3 separate regions of the Homo sapiens genome follow, and all the other regions are linked to region 1. The links are contacts of gene promoters, found by promoter capture Hi-C in human tissues and cell types (Jung and others, 2019). All regions are on one chromosome and are shown on one strand. Each heading gives the region's core, a stretch centred on a gene start or on the middle of the fragment in contact. The rest is flanking DNA. Distances are from core to core; before and after follow the strand shown.

Evidence for each region. The method cuts DNA at HindIII sites, captures the fragments that hold promoters and counts their contacts. A contact is called where the count stands out against the background at its distance.
Region 2: a contact is called between the fragment with the promoter of DNAJB8 here and a fragment that was not itself captured in region 1, in 3 of the 25 tissues and cell types used here (IMR-90 fibroblasts, mesenchymal stem cells and pancreas).
Region 3: a contact is called between the fragment with the promoter of GATA2 here and a fragment that was not itself captured in region 1, in 1 of the 25 tissues and cell types used here (mesendoderm cells).

The regions. Positions count from the first base shown.
Region 1 is chr3:128,271,632-128,276,089 of GRCh38, forward strand. The region is part of intron 4 of EEFSEC (eukaryotic elongation factor, selenocysteine-tRNA specific); the gene reads left to right. Among named protein-coding and RNA genes, the nearest start is that of EEFSEC, 120 kb to the left of the region's middle. The HindIII fragment of the contact is 5,747 bases long and covers 1-4,432 here.
Region 2 is chr3:128,464,395-128,468,584 of GRCh38, forward strand. It overlaps DNAJB8 (DnaJ heat shock protein family (Hsp40) member B8), which reads right to left and starts at 2,496. Exons shown (of 3, transcript NM_153330.6): 1 at 2,220-2,496; 2 at 882-1,042. The region is part of intron 2 of DNAJB8-AS1 (DNAJB8 antisense RNA 1); the gene reads left to right. The HindIII fragment of the contact is 25,608 bases long and covers 1-4,190 here.
Region 3 is chr3:128,491,115-128,495,866 of GRCh38, forward strand. GATA2 (GATA binding protein 2) reads right to left here and starts at 2,087. Exons shown (of 6, transcript NM_032638.5): 1 at 1,785-2,087. All of the region lies in intron 2 of GATA2-AS1 (GATA2 antisense RNA 1), which reads left to right. RefSeq lists an enhancer at 1-25 and a silencer at 1,797-1,886. The HindIII fragment of the contact is 13,259 bases long and covers 1-4,159 here.

The DNA of each region.
Region 1 (4,458 bases), core at 309-2,808:
AGATCAGCCCACCCTTGGTTGTCGCCCTCAGGAGGGACCTCGCAGATCAGGCCCTTCCTCTGCAGCACCATGGCCACTGCTCAGGTTCAAACTCCCGGGCCCTGCAGGGCCGCTTCTGTGGCATGCTGCTCCTCCCCTTGCCTCCCAGGTCTTCTTCTTGAGTCCAGCCCAGCCCTGCTGACAGAAAAGCCTTATTGCTGTCCTGCTCATCTGTCTGTGGGTCCTCATTGTCTCCAGGATAAAATCTAAAGTGCATGGCACGGAAGGCAGAGCATAGCTCTTCATTATCACCTCTCCAGCCTCAGTTTCTTGTCTTAAAGCCTCATAAGACCTCCCACTGCTCTCTGTGTATCAGGCAGTACTCTGGTTTCAAAGGACAGAAACCCAACTTCAATTGCCTTAAGCAGGATAGGAAACAGATAGGCTCAGGGCTGGAGACGTCTGGATGTCATCAGGAGTGCTGGCTGGCTCCAGAACTGGCTCTGCCCTGTCGTGTGTGGGCCACACACTCAGGTGGCACCTTCCCTGGCATAATCCCCACAGCTCTGGCTTTCCATTTTCTCCTTCAAATCCAAGATGCAGTGCTACTTGTGGTTGACTCCTGAACATCACGCTATCGAAGGATCCGTCCTGACAGTGGAACACCCCTCCCCTGGCAGCGGCTTGTTACCTGACTCTGGCCAATGATATGTGAAGGGACATGTCCTAGGGGTTTGGGGAAAAGCTTTTCTGCTTTTTGGAACTCAACAGGAAAAGACAGCTTTTCTCCTTCACTGGACATTGAAGGGAGGAAGGATGTGACGCCTGGACTCAGGGGCTGAACGGCCACCTTACTCCCAGGCTGGAGGTTTGCAGAGGCTGGGAGGCAGGAGAGTTGCCCAGAAGCAGAGCCTGCACCTGAGGGCTGCTGTGTGTCTGCCCCGCCTCAGAACTTCGTGTATTGTGAGAGCTCTGTCTCCACACGGTTCCAGTCAGGGCTATCTGTTACTTTTGGACCAAAGTATCATTTATGATATGAGAGCAAAATGGCATCTCTTTCCTAGCTGTTAGGAACACAATTAAGGAACAGGCTGCTCCTGGCCTGGTTGGACGGGAGCTCATCCCTGTGGATGAGTACAGTGCTCTAATTGGGCTGGCTGGGTTACATGTCCACCCCTGGAGCTGGAAGGGACAAGGTGGGAGGGATGGTTCACTAAGAAATTTGGGTTACTCCTAGGAAATGCAGAATAGACATCAGGCAGGCAAAACTGAGAGGTATCCACTGGCTTGGTGCTTCCCAGTGTCCACACCATCACAGCTCAGGTGCTGGACACAGATGGACTATGTTTGAGTCCTGCCCCATCACTCACGGGGCAGTTACCTCCCCTGGCTTCCTCCAGAGGTTGTCATGAGGATTTGACAAGAGCCACGTAGCGTGCTTGCAGCAGGGCTTGACGTAAGCCTCACTGTCTTTATCACCACCCTGTACAACTCTGCATCTTGTCTTTTCTTTAATGGGCCTTTTTACTTGGCCCATGGAGTGCAGAGACTTGGGGTGGGGTGGTCTGAGCTCTGCATTTCCTGCCTGCACCCAGGACCCCAAGAGCCTCTGTGAGGTCTTGCCTTTCTCCTGGCTTGAGGATTTGAATCACACCTGCAGCCAAGTTGTAATATCCTGTTGTCTCCCTAAGGAGGCACAGCTGAGGAAGGACAGTCGCCAGGCAAAGATGGAAGGTTGACCTCACAGGAGGCAGGGAACTCAGGAAGACTTCTCTCTGCAGGTGCTGTTGTCAGAGATCAATGCTCAGTGTCCTAAAGCTCTGGCAGGTTGGAGGATGCTGCCCCTGCAGGCCTTTTTCCTGTGGAAGCTTGGAGCTTGTTCTTAACCCCCAAACCCCAAGTGAATGGCATGCCCTTTTCCATCAGGCCCCTGAGAATCTGTTGCAGCTAGACGAACTGCTACCAGCATGTGCTTCCAGAAGCGGATGACTGGCTGGAGTCCTGACCTGCAGTCAGCTGTCCAGGCAGAGGGTACAGCCAGGTTCTTGTGCTGAGAGCGGCCTGGACCTGTGACAGTGGGTCTGTCTGCGCTCCTGATAGGCCTAAGCATTTCACACAGTCTTCTGCAAGGATGGCACTGGGTGGCCCAGGCATGGTTGGAGCAGGGGAGAAATGGTGGCTTTAACCCAAGTGGTGTCTTCCTAAGGAAGGGGACAGGCAGGAGTGGTGCTGCCCCACTGCTGAGGTGGGCCCCCTTTATAGAGATGCCAGCTCAGTCTGGTCGTGCTTGGTGTGTTTCAAGCCTGGTGTAAGCATCTAGAGTCCCACTTGGGCCCAGGTTGACCTGCAGCCTCCCAACCCTTTGATGGGGCTCTAGTGCCCAAGACCACAAATCAAGCCCTGCCCCAGCCCAACCAGGCTCCTCAACTGCAGCTTCCTGCTCTTAGGCCAGGTGGATGTCTTAGGATTCAGCCTCTCCCCTGCTCACCCCAAAGCCTGAGTGCAGCCACCACTCAAGCATACCCTGCCCTTTCCAGCTGAGGGGCAGTGTTACAAAGAAGTGACAGCAGGGCTTCGAGAGCAACTGGGCTTGGGTTTGTACCTATGTGCTGGCCCTGTGAGCTCAAGTGAGTTCCCTGAGTACACTGAGCTTCAGCGTCCTTGTCTATCAGTGGGGTTGACCATGCTGCCTTCCTCCGAGTCGCAGCAAAGAGGAGGAGGAAAGGGGCAAGCTGCTCTAGAGCACGCACGCATGTGGGCGCAGTCACCACAGGAAGCCTCAGCCCCTGCACCCTCTACATGGAGCCCTGGCAGTCAGGCAGCACTCAGTGGTTGCTGGGGGAGCAGATGTGGAGGTGCCAAATGTGGCGCGGGTAGGGAGTGTGGCTGGCCTCTGGACATCCCCTGTAGAAGCCACATGTTGAGGGAGCCTAGGTCGGTGTGGGCCCTGGCCCAGGGTGGCCTTGGGACACTCCCAGGGCAGCTGTAGCACCCTACAAGTTGTCGTATGAAAACCACTCTAACTTATACGTGCTTTTGGGTGGAATTAAATGAGTTTTATTGTTTCTAGGACAAGATAGGGATTTGATTAGAAACAACATTTATGGAATGCCAGGGCTGGTTCCCATCCACTGTGCCCTGCAGGAACACAGAGTCTTGGGTCCCAGGCATAAACGGCCAGCTGTGTGACTGGGGCAAGACACGCCCCTCTGTATGGCCAGGCCACCTTCTTAAATAAGTAAGAACAGCCTTCAGGTGGGAATGGTTCTTCCCAAGGGCCATTTGCTTTCACAATCTTGTTTACCTTCAGTGGTCAGTTAAGTTTCAAGGGGAAACTGTGACTCAGGCCAGTGGAATTGTCAGATGCAGAAGCAAGGGGTGAGATGGATGCGGGCTTGCTGGGCTTACCGAAACTTGTATGCCTGTAGGCCTCTGGGGGTGCAGTCATTTCCTCCCTCTAGCTGTGGGCTGCGGTGCCTTTGGAATAGGATGCGCATGTCATCGAGGGGTCTAGCAGTGACCTGAGGACTGGCAGGACCTCGATACTGGGGCCCAAAGCGGTTTCCTCTCCTGGGAAATGGGTGCCCAGCCAGTGTCAGAGCCCCAGCTGGGAGTGGCCTTGGTGCAGAAAATGCTGTGTAAATGGCAATTGACAGTGCCAGGTTGTGCCCAATGCAAGCATGGGTGCTGCCTGGTCCACAAAGGAGTATCTGATCTTTGACTGTCTGAAGACCACTGCCTTTCTAGGTTGGAAGCAAGCTCTGATTCAGATGAAAGTGTGGCCATGCAGGGCTGTGTGACCTCAGCTTGCACACCCATGAAGCCAGCCCTGCCCACAACCTTTCCAGATACTGTTGATGCGTGTCATGTCGGGGACTGGAGTCCCTGACAGGTATCAGAGCCCAAGCTGGCCCTGGGGGAGCCCTCAGTGGGGCTGGGGTGGTCAGGCAGGCAGCTGTTTCTTCATATGGGGAAGGCACTGAGTGAACATGGCTTCCAGAGTGTGGTGGGGGCACTGGAAGGGCTCCAACCCTGCTTCCCAGGCAAGGCGACTGAAGCTGAGTCTCAGAGAAGGCAGAGGGCTTTGCCCAGGCATTCTGAGCAGAAGGAACAGTATGTGCTAAAGCCCAGAGGCGAGAGAGTGTCTGGCATGACTGAGGTAAACATGGAGCTCCTTGCAGAGAGTCTGAGAAGTGGGGTGGTTCGTAGGTGGTTGTGGTCATCTCTGAAAGGGCAGTAGGGAGGATGTTTGGAAGGCCGAGTCTAGAAGATGTTCCAGCTGGAGTCGGGTCCTGTAGGCCACGCCTTGTGATGGGGAAGCACAGCTGCACCCTGGAATCAGGCAAGAGAGCCCCTCCAGGGGCCCACAGGGTCTCGAGGCTCCTGGGTGCCGCTGCTCCCCACTCCGCCCCCTCATGCCCTGCCAGCCTGTAAGTCCCAGGACCCTGTGCTTTCACTCCAGCTTTTCCCCAGGCCCCT
Region 2 (4,190 bases), core at 1,246-3,745, 190 kb after region 1:
AGAGGGAGTGCGGCCCCACTAACACCTCGATTTCAGACCTCTGGCCTCCAGAACTGGGGGAAGAGATTTCTTTTGTATTGAGCTACCCAGTTTGTAATAATTTGTAACAGCCCTAGAAAACGAATCAGGTGAGTGAGGTAACCAAATATTCTTAGGCATTTATATTCCTTTAATTCTTGTTCTGGTGTTGGATCATATATAGAAACAGCAATTCACAATACTGATTAATATCTGTTCCTACCTTCACCTCACCCCACTCCAATTAAGATCAAAACCATGCTAAACCACCTACTAACCACACCAATAAAGAGCCTAGATGTTTGGGTCACCAAGTCTTAACTAAAGATAGCCTTCCTGCCTGCCTTCTTTCCTTCCTCCCTTCCTCCCTCCCTCCTTCCCTCCTTCTTTCCCTTCCCTTCCCTTCCGTTCCCTGCCTTCCTTCCCTCCTCCCTCCCTCCCTTCCCCCTCCTTCCTTCATTTCCTCCTTCCTTCCTTCCTTCCTTCCTCCCTTTCTCCTTCCTTCCTTCTTTCTTTCCTTCCTCCCTCCCCTTCCCCCTTCTCCCTTCCCTCCCTTCTTCACTCCTGGCTTCTTTCCTTCCTCCTTCCTTCCTTCATTCCTCCCTTCTTCCTCCTCTTCCTTTTTCTAGTCTTCATCCCTTTCTATTATCCTCCCTCTCTCTCTTTTCTTTCAGTGCTCATGGGTGCTAGGTTTCAGGCTCCTAGCAGGGGACAGTGTGTGTTCTAACCAATCCCAAATGCCAGGAGGAATGGAGACAGACTGTAGAGACACTTTGTAAACCCAGCCTCCAGTGACCATCGCTGTCCCTCCATGCAGCTTATCAAAAGCACGACTCGCACCCCCATGCTGGGCATCCACCCACCTACACCTGCTGACACATGTGGCTTAGCAGAGGAGTTGAAGAGCAGAACTTCTCCACTGGATGTAGCTACAGATGAACCTGATTCTTTATCTCTGTGGCTGGATTTTTGTCACTATGTCTCGGTTAGCAGTTAGCACCTGCTGTCCCTTGCAGGCTTGTTCCTGGGGCGGGAGAAAGATGCTTGCCCTGCACAGTTCTCCATGATGGCGGTGGCAGTGGGAGAGGCACTGCTGTTGACTGTGTTGCTGGTGGGGAGAGGCACGGTGGGTGTCCATGGAGATGGATAAGGTGTCATTATATAGTAGAGGTGACCATGGGAGCAGTGTTGATGTGGAGGTAATGGTCATGGTGGGTGTGAGGGGGAGAGTAATTATGGGTGATGGTGGAGTTGATCATGATGATGGTGATGCTGGTGGTGACAGCAGCAAGGCTTGTGCTTGAGAGTAATTGATGATGGTAGTGGTGGTGGTGATGGTCATGCCAGAGGAGATGGTAACAGCGAGCCTTTGTTGTGGTTGGCAGTGATGGTGCAGGTATGATGAGGAGGTGATGGGAATGGCTCCTAGTGAGCCATTGGTGTGGTTGGCAGTGGTGACAGTAATGGTGATGATGAAGGTGAAGGTGGTGGAGGTAGCAGAGGTTGTATCTTGTTCGGCTATACCACAGTGACAGCTTCCACCTCTCAGTGGCTCACGACAAACATCTAGTTCCCCCCACTTCACTCACTGGTGCCTACAGGCAGCTGCCAGGGCCCCACCTCCCATAGCTTCTCACTGTGGGTCCCAGGCTGGAGAATCAGCTCTGACCTGCACACCCCTCTCTCATGACAGTGCCACTCAGAGACAGCAGGAACTTGGGCTGCCTCTGAAAGCTTCTGTTGGGCCATGATGTGTGGCAGTCTTGCTGCATCCCATGGTCAAGGCCAGTATCCATGGGGCAAAGAATGTTTCCTTCAGGAAGGTTCTGCAAATCTCAGGGCAATAGGAAGAGAGGCCTGAGATTCCCATGGGGAAGAGGGAGTGAGCAGTTCTCCAACATATGCCAGATGCTCAAGATGGGACTGACAGCGGGGCTGGTAACGATGGCTCTGCTGGGAGCAGTGTTGGTGCTGCTGGTGCCGGGGACACCCGTGGTGGTGATGGGATAGGAGGCAGGAATTGTGCTATTAATGGAGGATGGTGGTGAGGGTGGTTGTGGAAGAGGCAATGGTAGAGGGGGGTGCCGAGGGGTGAGAAGGACACAGTGGTGGACATGCTGGTGTGAGTGCCGATGGCGATGGTGATGGCACTGAGGTGTGGGGCTCTGTATTTTCTGTTGCTAACTTGGCATTACACCAACCTCTTCCATGGTCTCCTTGCATCCTGGAGAAATCTGAGGGATTTTCCAGAATCCCATCACCGGTATAATTCCAGACTAGAGCCTGCCAATACAAGGGATTTGGAGAGTGGAAAAGAGAGGCCGTTGCAGGCAGGTGACAATGGTGAGCTTTGCAACAGCTCGGGGCAATCTTCTGCGAAGACCCTGCTTCTGAGCCACAGGCTGAGGCATGGATGGGGAGCTTCCTGGAATACCGTGAGCTCCTCAGCAGCTCCCAGGCAAGCTCTAGAGAGCCGCTCACCTGGGAGCTGCAGGTGAGCATCTCGATTCCTTGTTCCCTGACCGCTGGTCCCAGACTGTTCAGGGTGCAGCGTGTAGTAAATGTCCTCCTCCTTGGTACACATTTGAGGGCTGTGTACTGTGAGGGTGATGGCGGCTCAGATGAAGGTGGTGGTTGTGATGGAGTTGGGTGTGAGGATAGCAGAGAGAAAGCAGATGGTGACATCAGGAAGGCATTGGAGGGGCAGTGGTGGTGGCAGTGATGATGGTGGCAGTCTAATTAGAGGCAGTGGTGGGTCTGGCTGAGGCAGACCCGGTGGTGGTGATGGTGGTGGTAGTAGAGGGGGCAATGACGGTGGTGATGGCAAAGGCGGTGTGAGTGGTTGATACTGGTGGCAGAGCTGATAAGGTGATGTCACAGATGGGATGGTGGGTGGAGATGGAGGTGGAGGAAGTGTGGTGACAGTGATGTGGTGGTGACACAATGCTGACACGGGTGGAGAGCACCGTGGTGACGGTGACAGAGATGATAGTGATAGTGGGGCTGGTGGCAGTGGTAGAGGAGATGGGGATGGGACGCTGGGGTGTTGATGGTGATGGTGACACTGCTGAGGGTGTTGGTGGCCTGACATTGTAAAGGTGAAGCCTGAAGTTTCCATGACGATGGAATCAGGACAGTGGAGGAGGGGTGGTGAAAACAATGTTAAGAGACAAAGGACCTAGTATGATGAGGCATCCAAGAATCCTGTGGCCGCCTCCCCGTCCTGGCCCTCCCTGCCTTGTTGGAGACCCTGGCTCTGGTCTGCGTTGTACTCCCAGGGGAAATTTCTTCCAGCCACTGCCCTGCTCCAACCCTTGTTCCTGGGATGGGTCTGTGGGAGTCAGCCAGGATGGAGACAGGGCTGGAGACCCCCTCACTGCCGCCCATTCAGGGCTGTCTTAGGGCACACAGAACAGACCACTCGGTAGGACTTACGGGAACAGGTGTGTCACCTGGGAGCAGGTCCCACACCTCACCATCAAGGGCATCCTGAGATGGAGGCCCCTGTGGGGAGCTCCCCATGAAGGGAGCTGTGGACCGTGGAGCCGGGCAGTGTGCAGAGGAGTTTCCCTTCTGCAAAGGGTTCAGGCTAGTCTCCTTCCACGCCAGTTTTTGGGGAGCCAGTGGGGAGCATCAGGGGCTCTGAGGCCTCCATAGGGCCTGCTGGAGGGACAGGGACACACAGGCATGAGCGCACACTTAGGCCCCACACGCTCCACCGTCAATTCTGTCAGGCCACCTCCCCTCTTCAAGCCTCTCTGTCCTCATTCACCAGTGGGTGCTTTTGGGGATTTGCCCTCTCTGGGGAGCCAGCCTAGGCTTCCTGGCCTCAGATGTCCCATGTCCCTCATCTCAGGCCCACCCTAAAGCCAACCCCGAGCCATGGCCAGGGAGAGAAGGACCTTCAGCGACCAAGCGAGGCCCAGAGAGGGCAGGGCACACCGAAGGTCACACAGCAGTACCAGGAAGGTCTCCCCCGGGCGAGCTGATGGAGCCGATTAAGCAGCCAATTGGTATTCGGAGCAGCCAGAGGCCCCTCTCTGTCTCTGTAATTAATGGAGTGGCTTTTTAAAAGGATTCTAATCACCCCCGATCCTATCTGCTTATCACTAGAGTTCCTAATTAGATGATCCTGGCAGTCACTCAGCTAATTCCCTCCAGCCCCCTGCAGG
Region 3 (4,752 bases), core at 837-3,336, 220 kb after region 1:
CTGGTGCCCGGTTCTAGAGTGCTTCTCAGGCCTCTACTAAGCCGCGGGTGCCAGGTGGGGACACAGAGATGCCCAGGTCTCCCCGGCCGTCCAGCCCCCCCCCCCCTCTGAGCCCTTTGTTTAAAGTTAGCTCATCCGAGGCGGCCCCTTTGGGACCATAAGTTTGCCCTCCCTTTGTAACCTAATTCTTCTCGCCTTTTCCTTATGGGCAGCTAATTGGCCCGCGGTGTGGGGCTGGGGGTGGGGTGTCAAGGAAACCCATTTGCTAAGGGACTACCTTCCATAGAGAAATTTAATTCGCAACCCAGCGGCCTCCCAGCCCCACACTGGCAATAAACCTTGAGGGGTACGGGGAGGAAGTGGGGTGCCTTAGCAGATGGGTTCAGAAGTTCCCTTAAAGCCGGGGCATTAGATCTCAGGCCAGCAGCCATCCCTCCGGGGGGGTTCCCAAGGGGGGGACTACTGCTATAACGGCCCCTCCTGCTCCTTGAGGTTCAATTCCAGCCCCTTAAAGCAGAAGGCTCCCTCCCTCGGCATCAGTGCAGGCTCTCCCACCTCATTACTGTTCTGTGTCTTTGGGAATCGTAGAGTCTGTGGCCCCCACGTCCTAGGTGTCTCGGCACCCTGGACCCAGGCGCCTCCGAGATTCTATATCGCTTCTGACCCCTACCTTCAAGCCTGGCAGGCTCCCCGCGGAACCCTGCTGAGACCCGGAGACAATCGGGCCGTGCTTCTCCCTCCTCCACGAACAGCCACGGTTTATTTGGAGCGGCCGGGGCCGGCGGCCTGACAACTGGTAAATCCGTTTCGTTAGGCACAATTTGTCTGCAATTTGTCAGCCCGGCTGGGAAACGCTCCCCAGACGCCTCGGCTGCCGCACGGGCCCTACCTGGTTCTCGAATCCTGCCTGCTCATAAACGAATCCTAGCACGGGGTGCCTGCGTAGACCTGGAGCTCACCACCAGATGTTCCCGACCTCGGGAGAGGAGGCTTTTTCCAAAACAACGAATTTCCTTCCTTGTTTTCCGGTAAAGGAGCGTTCGCCACACACGGGGTCCCTGAACGCGGGGCCTTTCCCCTCGTGGTTGGAGCAACGCGGAGTTCAAGCCTGGCCGCCACAGAATAATTTTAAATGCCCCGTTTTCAGACAGATCCAGAACGCCGTCTACGCCTACCGGCGGCAGATCTTCAAGCCCGCGGCGGCCCCATTCTTATTGAAATCCCACTAAACGGATTCCGACTCCGGCTTGGGGCGGGGGGAGACTTCCAGACCCGGCGCTCTCCCCCACACGCACCCCAGTCACACAGGATAAAGGGCTGCGGGGCGCAGCGCGCGGGGGCGCAAGCAGGAGCGAGCTGGGTTAAGCCGCGAAAAGCCGGCGCACGGGACCAGCCGGCAGGTGCAGCCGCCGCTCGGCGGCCCGGCTCGGACGCATCCGCCGCGGTGGCCTGGGGATTGGGGGCGGCCGAGACAAAGGCCCCAGTTCGGGGGCCGGGAGGCGGGGGTGCTTTGCGAGGCTCTGGGAATGCCAGGGTCTCGTGGCCTGTGGCTCCGAGAAATGGGAAGACAAGAGGCCCGAGGCGGGCCTGCTGTGCCCAGGTAACCAAATACTCCCTCTGGTTAAAGTCCCTATAACCAGGGTTTCCGGTCTCTGGCAGGGCCAAGGCGAGCCCCAAAGGTAGGGGCCACAGGGCAAACGGACCAAGCGATTCGGGTGCCAGGCGGGCCGGGCCGGGGGCGGGAAGGGCCGGGCCCAGGGAAGGTGGAAGTGGAAGAAACTCACCGAGCGAGGCGCGGTGGGCGGCGCCCCCGGGCGGACGGGGCCTGGAGTAGAGCTGGGAGCAGGGCGAGGTGCGCGGCAGGCGGGCTCGCGGGACCTGGGCGCGGGGTGGCGGCGCTCACCAGCAGAGCCTGGGCGGCACGCCGAGCGGCCGCATGGTGTTCAGCGGACCGCTTTTGTCCGCCTGGTGGGCGACGGGGCCCTGCTAGGATGGATGTGGCGGCAGGCAATAGACAGACTTGAGCAGCGAGTCCCGGGGCGACGCTGGCCTCGCTACCTTCCTGGCGCTCACGCTGCCTCTCTCTCCCCCACCGGCCGCAACGCGGCTTTTTATTTCGACATCACTTTGCGGGGGGGCAGGGGGTGGCGACGGGGGCGGGAGCGCCGCAGGGGGCAGGAGGGTACCCGGGGCTCTGCACCCGGCCTACCAGGTCCAGCCGCCTGGCCGGCCAAGGGCCGCTAGGCACTCAGGGCGCGCACACCCTGTGCATCCACACTCCAGGCCGCTCCCACCCTCTCCGGAGCGCACACGCGCGCCCCTGACCTCAGGGATGCTTGCTCAGAAAGCTTGGGACACGTCTTTACTGAGACTCTCCCCGGGGACCCTCAGGAGCTGTGAGCACACGCACTCACTGATAATGGTACACAGACGCCCGCTCCTCTGTCTTCAACCCACTTCCAGGAGTGCTCACACGGACACGCACACATCCCTGCACATGTGCACACAGCTGTGGCCGCGAGGACATCCTCAGACAGACGGCCTGGGTCACACCGACACACATGGCCATACAATCAGATGCAACTCGGCACTCGGGCTCACACTCAGGACGCCCTCACTGCCAGGCTTGTTTAGCTAAGTGCAGGCGCAGCCCCTCTCCCTGTCCCACCCCCCCTCCAGTTCCTAACGCTGGGGGACCCCCTGAGCACTTTAGAAGTCCACTGTCTGGTGTCCCCCTGGCCCATCTCCTTGGGGCAGACTCTCACAATGGGGGAAGCAAGGAAGTGTGCAGAGGGCTTGTTCACAGAAGTGGGAGTCAGGAGGGGGGGAGAAAGTGAGTGTGGGAGTCCTCATCCCCAGAAGGCCCCTGGGTTTGTGGGCAAAGACAGTCCAGTCCTTGTGCTGCCAAAGTTCTTACTAAGGGATTCAACCAGTCAGCGTCCCCCCACCCCCACCCCTGATTCCCATTCCAGCAGATCAGGGAGAGTGAAAGTGGCCTGGGGACCTTGAGCCCAGAGGGAAAGTGCTTGGGCTTGGAAGGACTGGGAAATCTGTGCTCCCGTGCCCAGGTGTGCCCCAGAGGAGTGTTTCTGTCCCCTGGTCTTTGTGACCCCTGCTGTCCATAGGTCTTTCTCCAAATCTGGTGGTGACTATTGCATTGTGTGTGTGTTCTATGCATGTGGCTCAGAGTCTATGTCCTGTGTGCCCAGGTGTGTCTGTGTGCACTTAGGAGCACACAGGAGTGTCTGCAAAACTGGGTGTATGAGTATGTTCATTTCTTCTTGTGGGTTCCTGAGAGTTTGTGTATTGGGCAGTAGGTCACAGTGTGGCTATTTCATGACCCTGGAATTTGGCACAAGAGAGTGTGTCTGTGGAAATGGTTGTGCGTCCCTTTGGCTCTGTGTCTGTGGGGTCATCATGTCAGAGACTCATGTAATGAGGGGTGGGGATTTCCAGGTGTTTGCCCATGTGTCTGTAGCAGTGTGTGGCATGTCTATGAATGGGTGTGTTTTGGAGTGTGTGTTTGCGTGTGTATGTGCATGTATCTAGGCATGTGTTACTGTGTGTATTTTTGTTGTTGTTGTTGTTTTGTTTTGTTTTGTTTCTTGAGACAGGGTCTTGATCTGTTACCCAGACTGAAGTGCAGCGGTTCAATCAGCGCTTACTGCAGCCTCAACCTCCCAGACTCAAGCCATCCTCCCACCTCAGCCTCCTGAGTATCTGGGACCACAGGCATGTGCCACCGTGCCTGGCTAATTATTTTTATTTTTATTTTTGTGGAAACACAGTCTCACTATGTTGCCCAGACTGGTCCCAAACTCCTGGACTAAAGCAATCCTCCCACCTCGGCCTCCCAAAGTCCTGGGATTATAGGCGTGAGCTACTGCGCCTAGCCTGTGTGTGTCTTTAATAGTTTGTACCTGGGTATCTGCATGTGTCCTTGAACTGGTGTATGTGTAGGTGTGTGTGTGTGGTGTGTTGCATGTGTCTGGATATCCATGTATAATTCTCTTTATTAATTGATGGCTGTTGGGGCGTGTGTTTGTGTTTGTGTATTTGAACATGCATTTGGCTATGTGCATGTCCATCTGTCTTTAACAGCATAGGTATCAGTGTATATCATTGTATCTTTGAACTGATGGTGGGGAGGAGGAGATGTATCCGAGTGTGTCTGCATGTCTACGTACAGCTCCATGTATGAATTGATGTGTGTTGCGGTGGGTGTTTGTGTCTGCGTATCTGGGTTGTGGGCAACTGTGTATATGACTACATCTTTGAAATGCATGTTTCTGTGGCCAGCAGTGCCCTGTTCTGTGGACTGTAGAAAAGTGTGTCCTGGGTGACACGCGGGGTGTGCATCCTGCAGGATCACACACCATCCAGACCTTCCTTAACCAGCAGGGCAGGCCGCCAGTGGAGCTCTAGGGTACCATTTGCTCGGGCACTTTCTGTCTGTCTGTGGGAGGGGAGATGAGCTGATAAGGCTTATCTGCTGTCGCCAGCGCCATGCTGAATAACTGCTCTAATGAGGTGTCCTCATTGGGACCACCCGATCCCAAGGCCCTGGGCCTCACTGGGGAGGGGCATGGGCGAGCTTGTCTGAAGCACAGGAGCAGGGCCTGGGTGCCTACAGGGCCTTTTCTACTTCTGTCTTGTTTCCTTGGAAAGGGGGTTCCAGGCCTTGCACCTCCCCACCCCACCTGCCTCCTGCCTACTGGGCGGAGCTGGGCTGGCCAGGCCAGAGCTGGCTGG